Regions from separate parts of the Homo sapiens genome. Here region 2 is linked to region 1. Evidence: promoter capture Hi-C in 16 types of primary human blood cells and fetal thymus (Javierre and others, 2016). All regions are on one chromosome and are shown on one strand. Each heading gives the region's core, a stretch centred on a gene start or on the middle of the fragment in contact. The rest is flanking DNA. Distances are from core to core; before and after follow the strand shown.

Region 1 (6,260 bases), core at 1,239-3,738:
TTGGGAAGAGTGCCAAAGTAAAGACAATTCTGTGCTGTGCTCCCAAGAGGGCTTAAGTAGATCTGGGATTGGGTCCAGGAATTTATAGGTAATCACAATGTATCACTCTTTCTTTCTTGTAAAGCCAATAGAAATATCTAATTTTAGTTTTAATAAGGTTCTTGATAAATCGAAAATGGTATTATCTCCTAGATGACTTGGTCAACATGTTAAGGTATTTGGGCAATTTTTTAAAAATCTTAAACTGGCCTGTTTTGTTGAAGGTTTAAATAAGTAAGTTAAGCAGCTCCTATTATGAGACTTACGGTAAGTTCATTCTGAGGATATGGAAAGTATCAGGCAGCATTATTATTTGCAAGAAACTGGGGTATAAGAGGTAACAGTAGTTTAAGGAGATGACAAGTACTTCGTGGGATGTGAAGAAAATGTTGGAGGGTTAGCTGCTGAAAGGGTATTGTTAATAGCGCTTTACTGTCTTGATTTGAGCCCTGTGGCCAACTAATATATGTCAATTTCTTGCCTGGAGATTGAATAATACATTAGGAAACATTTAGATTAGATCCATTTTAGGGCTCTTACTGTGAATAATGGAAATCTGCCAGAGTTAGTACATGCCCTGTCAGAAAATGTCATGCCTCTATTTTAGTACTGTTTCTAAATAGGAGGAAAAACTACAGACACATTACCTCTCTGGTTAATATTACTACTTTGGTCACTCCAACTCTCTTCTCACCTTTGAATAGACACAGTCTAAGCAGAATCTTAAGATTTTAGAGCTGCCATGTTGGCGTTAGCCTGTAGCTACTTAGGAGGCTGAGGTGGAAGGATCTTGAGGCCAGGAGTTCAAGTATAGCTTGGGCAATATACCAAGATCCTGTCTCAAAAAAAAAAAGAGAGAGAGGTTTTAAGTTTATGGGAGATTATTTAATAAACTTGAAATTAGCATATCAAAGGACATTGCCCGGGTTTCTTTGGAGACTTGTGAATAATTAGAATAGTAATTTTAGATACATTTGTTGTTTTCTTCACTTTTGATGCTTTCTGTCATTCTAATACTTGTGAACCCTTACCACAACCATGAAATGCATTTCACTGTGATTAAGGATATATGTAAACAAAAAACAAAGCAAATTTAAGCACCGTAATAAGTGGAGTTCTGTGGGAGAACAGAAAGGAATGGTTAATTATTGGAGTTGAGGATAAATAGTTTCAAAGAAAAGATAGCATTTGAAATGAGCCCTAAGGGTGAGTAGAACTTTAATAGCTAAGAATGTAAAATACAGACTTAAGAGAATAATATAAACAAGAACATAGGAGCCTGGAAGAAAATACGTAAGTTATTTGAGGAGTGGTTTATAATCTAGTGTTGCTAGATTCAGAGAAACAATACAAAATGAGGTTGGGAAAGTAGATTGGGGCCAGAGAGTTGCATTGGAATGACAGAGAGAGGAGCAAGTTTCCTGGGCAAAGAGAAATGAATACTAGGGAGTTTAGCAGCAAGGCTACTTATAGTTGACATTATTTCTTTCAGAACATATTTATTCAGCCACTCACATGACCCACATTATTAAATATTGCAAGCTTTGGTAGTGTATCATGAGCATTCCTGTTAGATGGTCTTTCATATTCATTAACCACATTGCACATGCTATTAATGCTTATCTAGAATAGCCTTCCCTTCTTTTTCCCCTGATATATTTCTCTTTGCTTCTTCCGACGGCTAGCTCTGTTACTTACATTTTCTGGACAATATCTAGGTGCTTTTTTCTGAGTTTTTATAGCCATATATATGTCTTTTAATTATATTTCTTAAATGTGATATTTAATGCATGTTTTTCTCCTCAGCTAAAGCTCTACTATGGCAAGAACCTACTGTGGGGTATTTTTTGTCTCCCATTTGTGCCTTAGCACTAAGTATAGAATGATATATATTTAATATATTTTATTATGTATTGGGGTAAGCAAAAGAAAAGATACATCTTGCTTTTCTCTGATTTTTTTCCCTCTACCATTTTATTGCCCACTGTGTTCCTGAAAATAAATAGCAGTTGCATTAAAATGGAAATCTCTATGGAACATAGCTTTTTCACTCTTAGCAATTCTTTTCCCTGTCTGCAAAGTTTTCTTGTTTATTTTTCACTGACCTGTTCTGATCTAAAATCAACTTTTTTTTCCCCCTTCCTTAAGCTTTTTTATTTGGGGGAACCCTTTTAGAGTAATTTTGTAAAGTATTGCTCAACTATTACCCGCCCAGAATATACATACACATATAAATGTATGTATACCTATAACCAACTTGTATTTTGGGGTGGGGTGGGACAGAAAAAACAATGTAAAGATTAAAATAGTCAGTGTTAGCATTATATAATCAAAGGCTGATAGTTTGGGGGAAGTTAACTGTACTAGAGTTTGAAATTTTAAGTCAGCTTTGAAGAAGAGATGAAGTGGACATTGTCTCTCCACTATCTTAATTTAAAATTTTACTTAGCCTGTACCAAGGCTTTTCATTCCCTTGTAACATTTTTAAGGATTTCTGGTTTTTTTATTTATTTTTATTTTTTATTGTGCATCTGAGTGGAGAATAGAGAAAAAATTGGCATGGTGAAACTAAAAATTGGTTAAAATGTATGACAGGCTTGCTAAAGGGATATTATGGCTGTCAGCTAAAATAAAAGTAAGGAGGATGGGTTGGTTCATGAATCTTACTTGCTTAAATTGTTCATATCTTTTCCACTGTCAAAGAAAATTAGATTGGTTATAAAGTTTTTACAGAGAAATTTCTTTTCCCTTAAGCTTATTTAAATATTTTATCAAATGAAGTCTGTGAGGGATATTAGAGATAAAGGAGATTTATAATACATTTATGTAACATTTCACATATCTAACTTATTTGGTACTCATCAATATTATAATTGTATTTATCCTTTTAATATATTGGGTAATATTTATCCTACTAATTTTCTCTTTTTTACTTTTAGCAAAGTGTGGGATGCTGTCTCAGGAGATGAATTGATGACCCTGGCTCATAAACACATTGTCAAGACTGTGGATTTCACGCAGGTATCAGAAAATGGAATTTATTTTAGCGAGTTAAGTTGCTGGTACATAGTGTGATAATGCTTTTATACTTGATTGGTGTGTATATTTGATTGATATGTTTTGTGTGGAATATTTGTTATTTCTTGGTTCATATTTGATTTGATTGTGTATTAAGCTCTATGAATTTGTTTCATAGTTAATCCTGTCAAGCTTTTAAGATACTGTGGAACGAGTACCAGTCCTTCAACATGTAAAAAACATCTGAAAAGCTCAAGTAGCCTTCCCCAACTACTAATAGAAGGGAGAAGATAAATTTGAGATAATCAGAAAAGGGCCTCTCACAAGGGAGAGGAGTAGGATCAGGGGAGAATGGGAGAGTTCATGTATATGTAGTGTAGTGTAACGCTTTTGAAGTGGAAAGCTTACAAGTCTTGGCAGTTATGAGAGGTCAGCTGTTCCACAGTATCTTCTCAGAAGTAATTGGTTATGTCTTGGCATCTCTTTGTGATGTCTGTGAGCTAGATTTTGATTTTATTTGGTGTTGAAATTTGAAAGAGAAATAACTATTAAAATGGTTAATCTATTCACATTTTACTTTGTGTTTTCAGGATAGTAATTATTTGTTAACCGGGGGACAGGATAAACTGTTACGCATATATGACTTGAACAAACCTGAAGCAGGTAAGCATAATTTAAACATCAGCTTCTAGTTTTATTTTCTTTTAATTTAAATAACTGATTAAAGAATTTCATGCTCAGTACTCAAATTTGGAAAATAAAGATAGTCATGGCCGGGCACGGTGGCTCATACCTGTAATCCTAGCACTTTGGGAGACTGAGGCGGGTGGATCACTTGAGGTCAGGAGTTCGAGACCAGCCTGGCCAACATGGCAAAACCCCGTCTCTATTAAAAATAGAAAAATTAGCCAGGCATGGTGGCAGGCGCTTGTAATCCCAGCTACTTGGGAGGCTGAGGCAGGAGAATCGCTTGAACCCGGGAGGTGGAGGTTGCAGTGAGCCGAGATTGCGCCACTGCACTCCAGCCTGGGCAATAAGAGTGAAACTCAGTTTCAAAAAAAAAAAAATAGTCAACAAAGAAGAAAATTAAAACGTAATTCATCAGTTTTTGGTTTATAAACTTTCAGTCTTTTTTTCTGCACAGTTTTTAAAAAATAAGTTTATTTGCTATGTTGCTATTGTATAACCTTCTTCCAAACTGAAAATTTATTATGGCAAATTTTTATCATTAAGTTTTAAAACAGTGCAGAACAGTGTTACTATTTTTTGGTAAGAAAGATTGGTTATTTATAGAAGTTGGTGATGGTGAGAATTCTCAGTTGTGTGCACATATTGCTTAGATTTTTGAACCATGTAAATATATTAGCTATTCGAAAGAATTTTAAAAAATCTGCAGTTACAGTTTTTTCATTTCACTAAATAGTCTATGAACTGTTTGTAATGACTTTCTGGTTTTCCATCCTGTGGTTATATCATAAGTGAATTAACTAGTTTCCTGTTTTGGCCCGTTTGGGCTACTTACAGATTTTAAATATGAAAAGCAGTATTATGCTAAACATCCTTACAGTTGCAAATATTTTCACAATGATTTCCTTAAGATAACTAAGCAAAAGTAGAATTGGTGGGACAAAGAGGAGTGGAATTGTTGGAAGGTGGCCGGGCGCAGTGGCTCACGCCTGTAATCCCAGTGCTTTGGGAGGCCAAGGTGAGTGGATCACCTGAGGTCAGGAGTTCAATACCAGCCTGGCCAACATGGTGAAACCCCATCTCTACTAAAAGTACAAAAAAATTAGCTGGGCATGGTGGCAGGCGCCTGTAATTCCCAGGTACTCAGGAGGGTGAGGCAGGAGAATCGCTTGAACCCGGGAGGTAGAGGTTGCAGTGAGCCGAGATTGCATACCAGCCTGGGGGACAAGAGCAAAACTCCTTCTCAAAAAGAAAAAAAAAAAATGAATTGTTGGAAGCCATTGATAGATACTACCAAAGTGTCTTCCAACAAAGTATGGGTATATATGTATGTATCTATACCCAACATGTTCTAGTGAGCACTGATAACTAACTTTCTCTTTGTCAATTTAAGAAAATAATTCTGTTGTATTAATGTGAATATTCATGAGATTAAAATGCTATTGAATACCATTTTAATATATTCCCTTTTTTATGGAATAATTGCCTGTCTACCTTTTGTCCATTTATCTGTTGTGTTATTCATGTTTTTCTTACTGGTTTTTAAAGGTTCTTTATTGAATTCTAATTTATCATTTGCTTTTAAATTTTGTTAAGGTGGTTTTATGGTATATATGTTTTTAACATTTTGGTGGTGAAATTCTTTATGCATTCTCTCATTTTACAGAAGTTATAGGTGTCTTCCCCAGTCTACATGTTTATTTTATAATATTTTAATAATTTCCCTCACCATATATATACTTAGCTACCAAAACATGACAAACATAATTTTGTTTTATTATATATTTGGTATCTTTCAGATTTTATTATGTGGACATTTATGTAGTCATAAATCTATAAAATTTTAAAGAGTAATAAGAGAGTCAGAACCACATTGGAAATTAAGCGGTTATTCTCTTGAGATACCTTCCATTTCTGAGAACTTTTTAAAATATTTTACATTTTAATGTTACAGTAATTTGTTATGAAAACATTTTTAAGGTGAGGAAACAAAGCGCATTTGCAGATTTTTTTATTCTCCATTGCATGTAGAAGTTTTTTTCTCCTTTCTTTTTTGATAAATCTATGCCAAAACATAGCAAAGGACTCTGACCTCACTTCTTCTATGAACCCATTCAACAAAGCAAGGTAGTTCAGGGATTGGGTCAAAGCAAGGTAGTTCAGGGATTGGGTTGACATTTTTCATGCTCTTTACCTTTCCCAAAGCTGTTTTATGAAAGTTGCTCTTTCGCTGTGCTGGCAGCAGAAAATAAAATGAGGTTTTACTGTGTATCGGGTATCTGTTAAGCCCTATTCGCATTTGTAACCATTGTTATCTCATTTTACAGATGAGGAAATAAAGTTAAAAAGTTAAGTAACATGCCCAAAGGTGAAAATAGTGTTGAATGGCATTGCCTCCAGTGTCTGCTTTTGCCCCTAGAGACAGCAGTGAGGGTTTTTTGAAGTTCTTCGAAAGGATAATCTCCTACAGATTTAAGCTCCCTTCCTTTTTTTTTATGTTTTCCTCACAGTGTAGA
Region 2 (6,260 bases), core at 1,719-4,218, 1.1 Mb before region 1:
ATTTTTTAACTCACTGGGAAAAGTAATCAAACAATGGCATTATAACCTGTAGTGAGCTTCTCTGCAAAGTTACTTCAGTTCCTAAATAAAGTTTGGCTTAGTATATCTTACAGTTTTTATAAAAAGCATAAAGTACCTTTTCTAGAAAATATTAGAAATGTTATTCTGAAACCCACTAATCCCAAATCACAAGATGTACCAAACAATACTTAAAGTTTTATAAGATGCCTCTAAAATCATACCTTCTTTAATTCTCTCTTCCGGGCTTCCTTTCCTTTAAAAGGAGAGAGGGAGATATAATAAAATCTTTGAATCTTGAACATTAGCATTTCCTCCAATTTAATACAGGTAATTCTTTATTGTGGAAAGTTACAGTATGCACTGTAAAAGAGCAGCATCTTTGGATTCTCTCCACTACATGCCAAGAGCATCCCTCTAATTATGACAACCAAAAATGTCAAGACATTTTTGTTTAATGTTTCATAAAAAACAACTATGAATCTGAAGGAAAAACATAACATAAAACGCGAAACAAGGGCTCGCAAAACTAATTTGCTCAAAATTTCCAATATAAAAAGAAAGATTTCAGCCAATTCTACTTTGCAAGTCAATCAAATTTGAAAAATAAAATACGGGTACTAATTTCTTTGCATATTTAAAGTCTTAATGTGCCCATACAAACCCTGAATATATAATTTATTCCTCCTATCACTGCTGGTCTTGTAATTAAGCCACAGAGAAAGAAATTCCCTAATATTTGCAATTTTTAACACTCTCCTACTTCATCATTCCACACTAATGGACACTTACGGGCTTGGTCTGTGGGGTTCATAAATTTTCCACTCTTGGTGGATGATGTAGATCTCCGTCCCATGTTGACAATTTGTATGGTTTACTTGTTCATTAAAAAAAGAAAAACCTGTGAAGGTGAAGACAAAGAAATAGCTTATATCTCCTAAATGTATTTCTTCCTTTTTCTAGTCCCTACCAATCTCTGAAAAAAAATTCCTTTAATTAGAAATTCTGTGAGACTGTTCTTTCCTTAGTTTTGACTTTAATGTCCAAGAAAGATGGCATCACCTTTCTTGACCATGAAAATTTAGATCTCTATCATTCTTCAGAAATGTGATGAGTGTGAAGACCACTTTGAATATCCTCAAGTCATCAGTTTAGCTTTTTTCTTATGGATCACAGCACTGACTTTGTCAACTGATAAAAACAACTAGAAAATGCTTTAACGATATGGCACAAACCATGAACATCAGAATTCATTAGTCCTTCTTCTATAACCTCCCTTTATTAACATGTAATTGTAAAAGAAGAATAAGAAGGGAATGGGGGTAATGGATCTAGGCTCAAAACACATACCTCACCTTTGCCTCTCTCCATGGTTTTTCTTGGCATGTATGCTGTACATTCTCAATACTTCTAAGACACTAAAAACTCATTAATTTAAGCATATTTAATTCAGATTCAGTTCTAGTTCAGATATAATGCTTGACTCTCAAGAGTTCAAAACACAACTAAAAATGCAAATATTTGAAATTAGTGCTATACTGAGAGCTCCCCAAAACTTAAATATTAAGACACATATTTTTCTTACTAAGACCTGACTCCCAATATATATTTCTTAAGGTAATTAAAGGGAATACTTATTTTTGTTTGAGGAAAAAATATTTTGTAAGCTAAAACTTTTATTAACACAGTACCCTATTACATGACTTCTTCCTCTTATTCCAAAATAATGGGGCTTAATTTTTTGAAGCGCAGTCTTTCCAGTAATAAAGGCGGACAAATTTGCTTCCTTTTGCAAGTAGACACTTTTTAAAGGTAAGAAAGGGAAGATTTTGTCAGCCCAGTTTATTACAGTTAATGTCTCTTTCACCAAGTGTCCAACTGCCCCGAAAGCCAGATGTTTCAGAAAGCCAGATGTTTCACAGCTGTTCTGGTGGCAATTACTTCAAGACAGCGGTATCAAAGGCTCTGATTTTTAGCTTCCTCATCTAAAAAATGGGGACATCAATTACTTTATAACAAAGCTCTGATGATACAATGAGATTACAAATAAAATATCCTGTGATGTTTGACTCACTACTTAACTAAAATCTTTATAATGGATCCATATTCCTGGCCTAGCTACCATACACCCTGTCAAGTGGTTTCCTTCTAAGAAAAACTGGGGATGGGGGGGTTAGGGGGGTGGGAGAGCAGCAGGGAGTAGGAGGTAGGGAAGGAGGAAAACAAGCAAAATCAGTACATATACAAGCTCTCCCATCTTTGATTGCCTGCGTTTTTTGTGCTTTCCTTTCTCAAGTTTCCTCAGGCTCATGTTCTGAATCTCCTCCCCCACAAATGAAACACAACGGATACGAATTACAGAGAATTTTACGGAAGACACTGGAGCTTAAGTCTGCAGATTAGTTTTTTGTCTACAAGCGGAGGCGACTGGAAAATCAAGCCAAATAAGCGTTGGATAACTCTAAACAGCCAAAGAAGCTTCAATGGGATAGGGTCCAGGTTCACCAAAGGAGGCAACACCAGCAACTGACGAAACCATAGCGACGGCTGACCGACCATGACTCGAGGTACAAGACGTCAAACCTAAGGCTACTAATCAACGTGCGTAAGAAGCGGCCCCAACCGACCCGGGCGATGCCAACCGCGCAACCACTGGTCGCCGCGCCACCCCAGGCCCAGGAATAGCCCAGTCCGCAACAGGGAGACCTCAACCAGGGAGAGGAGGAGCGGGGCAAAGGGGCTGGGTGTCCCCCAAGCCGCTGCGCGGGACGTGGAAGGGACGAAAGAGGTGAGGAAGAGTAGTAAATCAATTCAATACACTCACACTTCTGCTGTGCTCCCAGGACTACGAGAAGCGGGTAGGGGGCGACTCCCGGCCTCTTTCACTTCGTAAAGGCCTTCAACTGGGTCTCTCGGTCAACCCCTCAGCTACCGCCATCTTGAAACCTCGCGCCCCTCCGCACTCCTCACGTCATTTCCCATTCCTCTGTCCCGCCTTCTCTTAGCGCCGCTTGACCCTGGAACCATAGAGAATACCCAAGAATTCCAGGACCAGAGTCTCTTCCGGTTCCATACAATACTCAATTGGTTGGTTGTCGGCTAAGAGCCCGCCTCATTGCGCTCATCTAGTACAATAGGAATTAGAAGAAGATAGCTGCTAACTGAGTGGCTGACGGTCCTGTCTCTCGAGTTGGAGGCATCTTGACTTAGTTGCTGGGAGCCTGGTACGTTGAGCCGTCCGAGAACGGTACATTCTGCAGATAAAGAAGCGTTCTGCGTTTTCTGTCTTTTGGAATTACCTTAGTTTTTGCATTTTTCTGTTTCTTATGACCCAAGCAGGTGCGATCCTTTAGGGGTGTCTCCGTGTGTAAACGAATACCCAGATAACATTTGCCACTGAGTTTAATCCGCTTTGTAAGCATCAGGTTATCCCATGTGAGCGCCTAGTACGTGTGGAAATTTAATAGACAGGCAGAACAGAACGTTTGTAGACCACCTGAACAAATAAATTAGCACCCGTATTAGAGTCGCAGATTGCTTATATGGGCGGTGATTTATTATTTGTTAGTAGTGTTTTGAAGAAGAAATACGGGGATACATATGCAGTCGGTTTTAAGTTATATGAGTGGCAAGGTTGATATATATTGGCTATATTCCCGACTGGTCTTTTCACCAGCCAAAAGTCCTCTATGATGTCACTCTACGTACGGGATTCTTCACTTAACTCTAGCCTTCGCCCTTTCCCTACCTTCTATCCCCTCTTTCCGTGAGTCAGCCCCCACTTATTTCCCTTAAAGGTAAGTTTAAACATTTAAAAAACTATCTTAGAGGATACGCTTGGTTATTTCTAATCTTAACCTGACTATCCCATGTAGGAAGGCTATTCTTACCACCAGTTATAAATATTTCAAAATATTGATGGAGATACATACTAATTTTTAGCAGAATCTTTAAACTGCCCTTGAAGGTATAAGATCGGTCCTATACCTAAACTTACCTTTGTGTTAGGAAATTCTTGATTTGATTTTAGACTGAATTTGAGTGTCAGAAAGCAATGACGAGATATTGTAGGTTAAAGCTGATAAACCAGGTAGTACATAAAAAAGAAAATAATCTTGAACTGCGAAGGTGAGCTAAGTTGTAATGTTTTGCAACTAGTTTTTTTTCTTTCCTAACACATTAGTGATCATAGTTTTGCAACTCGTTTTGAAAAACAATGCAAGAAGAGAAAGAGAAAACAGTGTATGTTGGAAATATTAAAGTCTTTCATGTAGCTAAAATTTTATATGTAGCTACTATTTTTAAGATATGCTGAGCAGTTTTTATTTCAATACATTTCTTGTACTTGGATGGGAGAATCAACTATAACAAACACAGTCTGGCATCAACAGCATATTAATAATTTTGTCAGTATAGACTAAAAGAGTCCTCATGGGAATTATTGGTTGGCAAAGGATTTAGAAAACAAACACATCTGCAGAGATTCAGCGGAACCATTAATAGGCTTCCATAGCCTTTGGCGTTTTCTAAAATCAGGTAATTAGTGAAATGGCCCACCTAATGCGTCATGTAGCAAAGGCAGCTGCCTCCTTTTTGCTAGTGTTGAAAATGAAATTATATTCTTTTTTCTGAAAGCTTATAATAAATTATGACTTTCTTTTAAATGACAAATGCTTTGAGTAGTGACCTTCTATTCTGCATCCTAAATGCAATATGTGTAGCTGTGTTTTGCTTTCTTGTCTTCTAAATGTTTCAGTGTTTGAACATTCACTTGAGCGATATTTAATTATCACAGTTGGTCAGGGTTGATTGCAGTGACTGAAACAGGACCTTGATGTTTTTAGTTTTGATTTTTACCATTTTCAAATCCATCCGGTTTACATTGTGTAATCAGTAGACGTTTACAGATCAGCTTCCTGTCCTAATTGAAGCACATTGTTACAAACCATTTTTCAGTCTCTTCTAGTTTACAGAAAACCAGATTTACTCTGATGGTCAAAAATATGGTAGTATTTCTGTCTCATTCGAAGGCCTAGAGTTTGTGTCTAGGCAGAAGTTACTGAGTATGTCCCCTTATAACTAAATGATGTTTGAAGCTGGTGGTAGAAATGAAAGTCTCTGCATTCAATGTGAAATTTAAGAATTTTACTGAAATTAGAAAAGAGAAAAGTAACCCCTATACTTGCTACTCTACGATAGCATTTACCCCAATGTTGATCTGGTAGAGCAGGGTGTGAAAACATCCAGGGAGAAAATTTTTTTACCTCACAGGGTCTAGCATCAGCTGATCCAGGCATTGTTGACTCAAAACTCATCTAGTCATCTAGTCTTGGCATCTCCAGTTTCCCTCTCCAAATTGTTTATCTTATTTAAGTCCATATTGGAAGCCTATAGAAAATGAACCTAATCAAAGAAGCAAACACTGTTACTGAAAAGGAAGCAGAAAAACACTTCAGTGGCAAATAAAACGGCTGTTCATTTCATTTGGTGTTTCACTGTATTGATGACCTCAGTAATGGCATGATTATATTTTTCTGAGGCTGATTTGAACTCCACCAGATGCTTCTCATAACTTTTGATGGCTGCTTGAAGCTGTGTTTTTTCCACTGCTCCCAGGATGGCACGGACAATCATATCTATGCCAAGGCCAAGAACAGCAACTCCAATACTACCAAGGAGAGAAGCACCAATTTGAGCTAACACAGTGACCAACTTGTTAATTATGCCAGTTGTGACATTTGAGCCCACAAGTTTAACAGCGACTGCACTGGCTGCAGATGTAGCTTCTCCCAGGATGACCGAAATAACCTTTTGCACTATTGCAATTTTGTCTGTTTCCTTTTCCTTAATATCCTGAAGTTTTCTATAGAGGGTTGGCTCTAGCTTATCTTTTAGTGCTTCATCAACCTTCTGCAATTCCTTTTGGATTTTCATAATGGCTTGGATGATGAGGTCACAGTTTTCTTTGATGGTCCCATCTCTTTTCATCTCAATGGAGGCCAGCCTGCACCCCAAGTGCATATTTAGAACCTCAGTCAGCTTATTGGTGACATCGAAGCTGTCAGATAAGCAATCAAGAAGCTGCTGGTGAAGACGATTTACTTCTTCCCGCCTTTTTGGGTTCTCTGGGTAAAGGAAGTCACTTTGGGCCATATTTCCAATATGATCGCTGAAAAATAAAATGGTAAATTTTTACTGAAAGTCTTAAAAAATGTCTGCTAACTGTGTAGAAGGGACTAGGA

Evidence for each region. Contacts are between HindIII fragments. The CHiCAGO score rates a contact against its expected background, and 5 or more counts as called.
Region 2: the fragment with the promoter of WBP11 here is called in contact with a fragment that was not itself captured in region 1 in 11 of 17 cell types (non-activated CD4 T cells, total CD8 T cells, naive CD8 T cells and 8 more); the score reaches 15.8 in non-activated CD4 T cells.

Annotation. Positions count from the first base shown.
Region 1 is chr12:15,886,950-15,893,209 of GRCh38, forward strand. STRAP (serine/threonine kinase receptor associated protein) reads left to right here. Exons shown (of 10, transcript NM_007178.4): 3 at 2,979-3,060; 4 at 3,648-3,720. Among named protein-coding and RNA genes, the nearest start is that of STRAP, 7.7 kb to the left of the region's middle. The HindIII fragment of the contact is 606 bases long and covers 2,186-2,791 here.
Region 2 is chr12:14,800,510-14,806,769 of GRCh38, forward strand. WBP11 (WW domain binding protein 11) reads right to left here and starts at 2,969. Exons shown (of 12, transcript NM_016312.3): 1 at 2,843-2,969; 2 at 811-919; 3 at 243-274. The coding sequence starts at 874. C12orf60 (chromosome 12 open reading frame 60) reads left to right here and starts at 3,161. Exons shown (of 2, transcript NM_175874.4): 1 at 3,161-3,242. SMCO3 (single-pass membrane protein with coiled-coil domains 3) reads right to left here. Exons shown (of 2, transcript NM_001013698.2): 2 at 4,141-6,187. The coding sequence starts at 6,171. The coding sequence ends at 5,494. RefSeq lists an enhancer at 3,265-3,504. The HindIII fragment of the contact is 2,157 bases long and covers 2,495-4,651 here.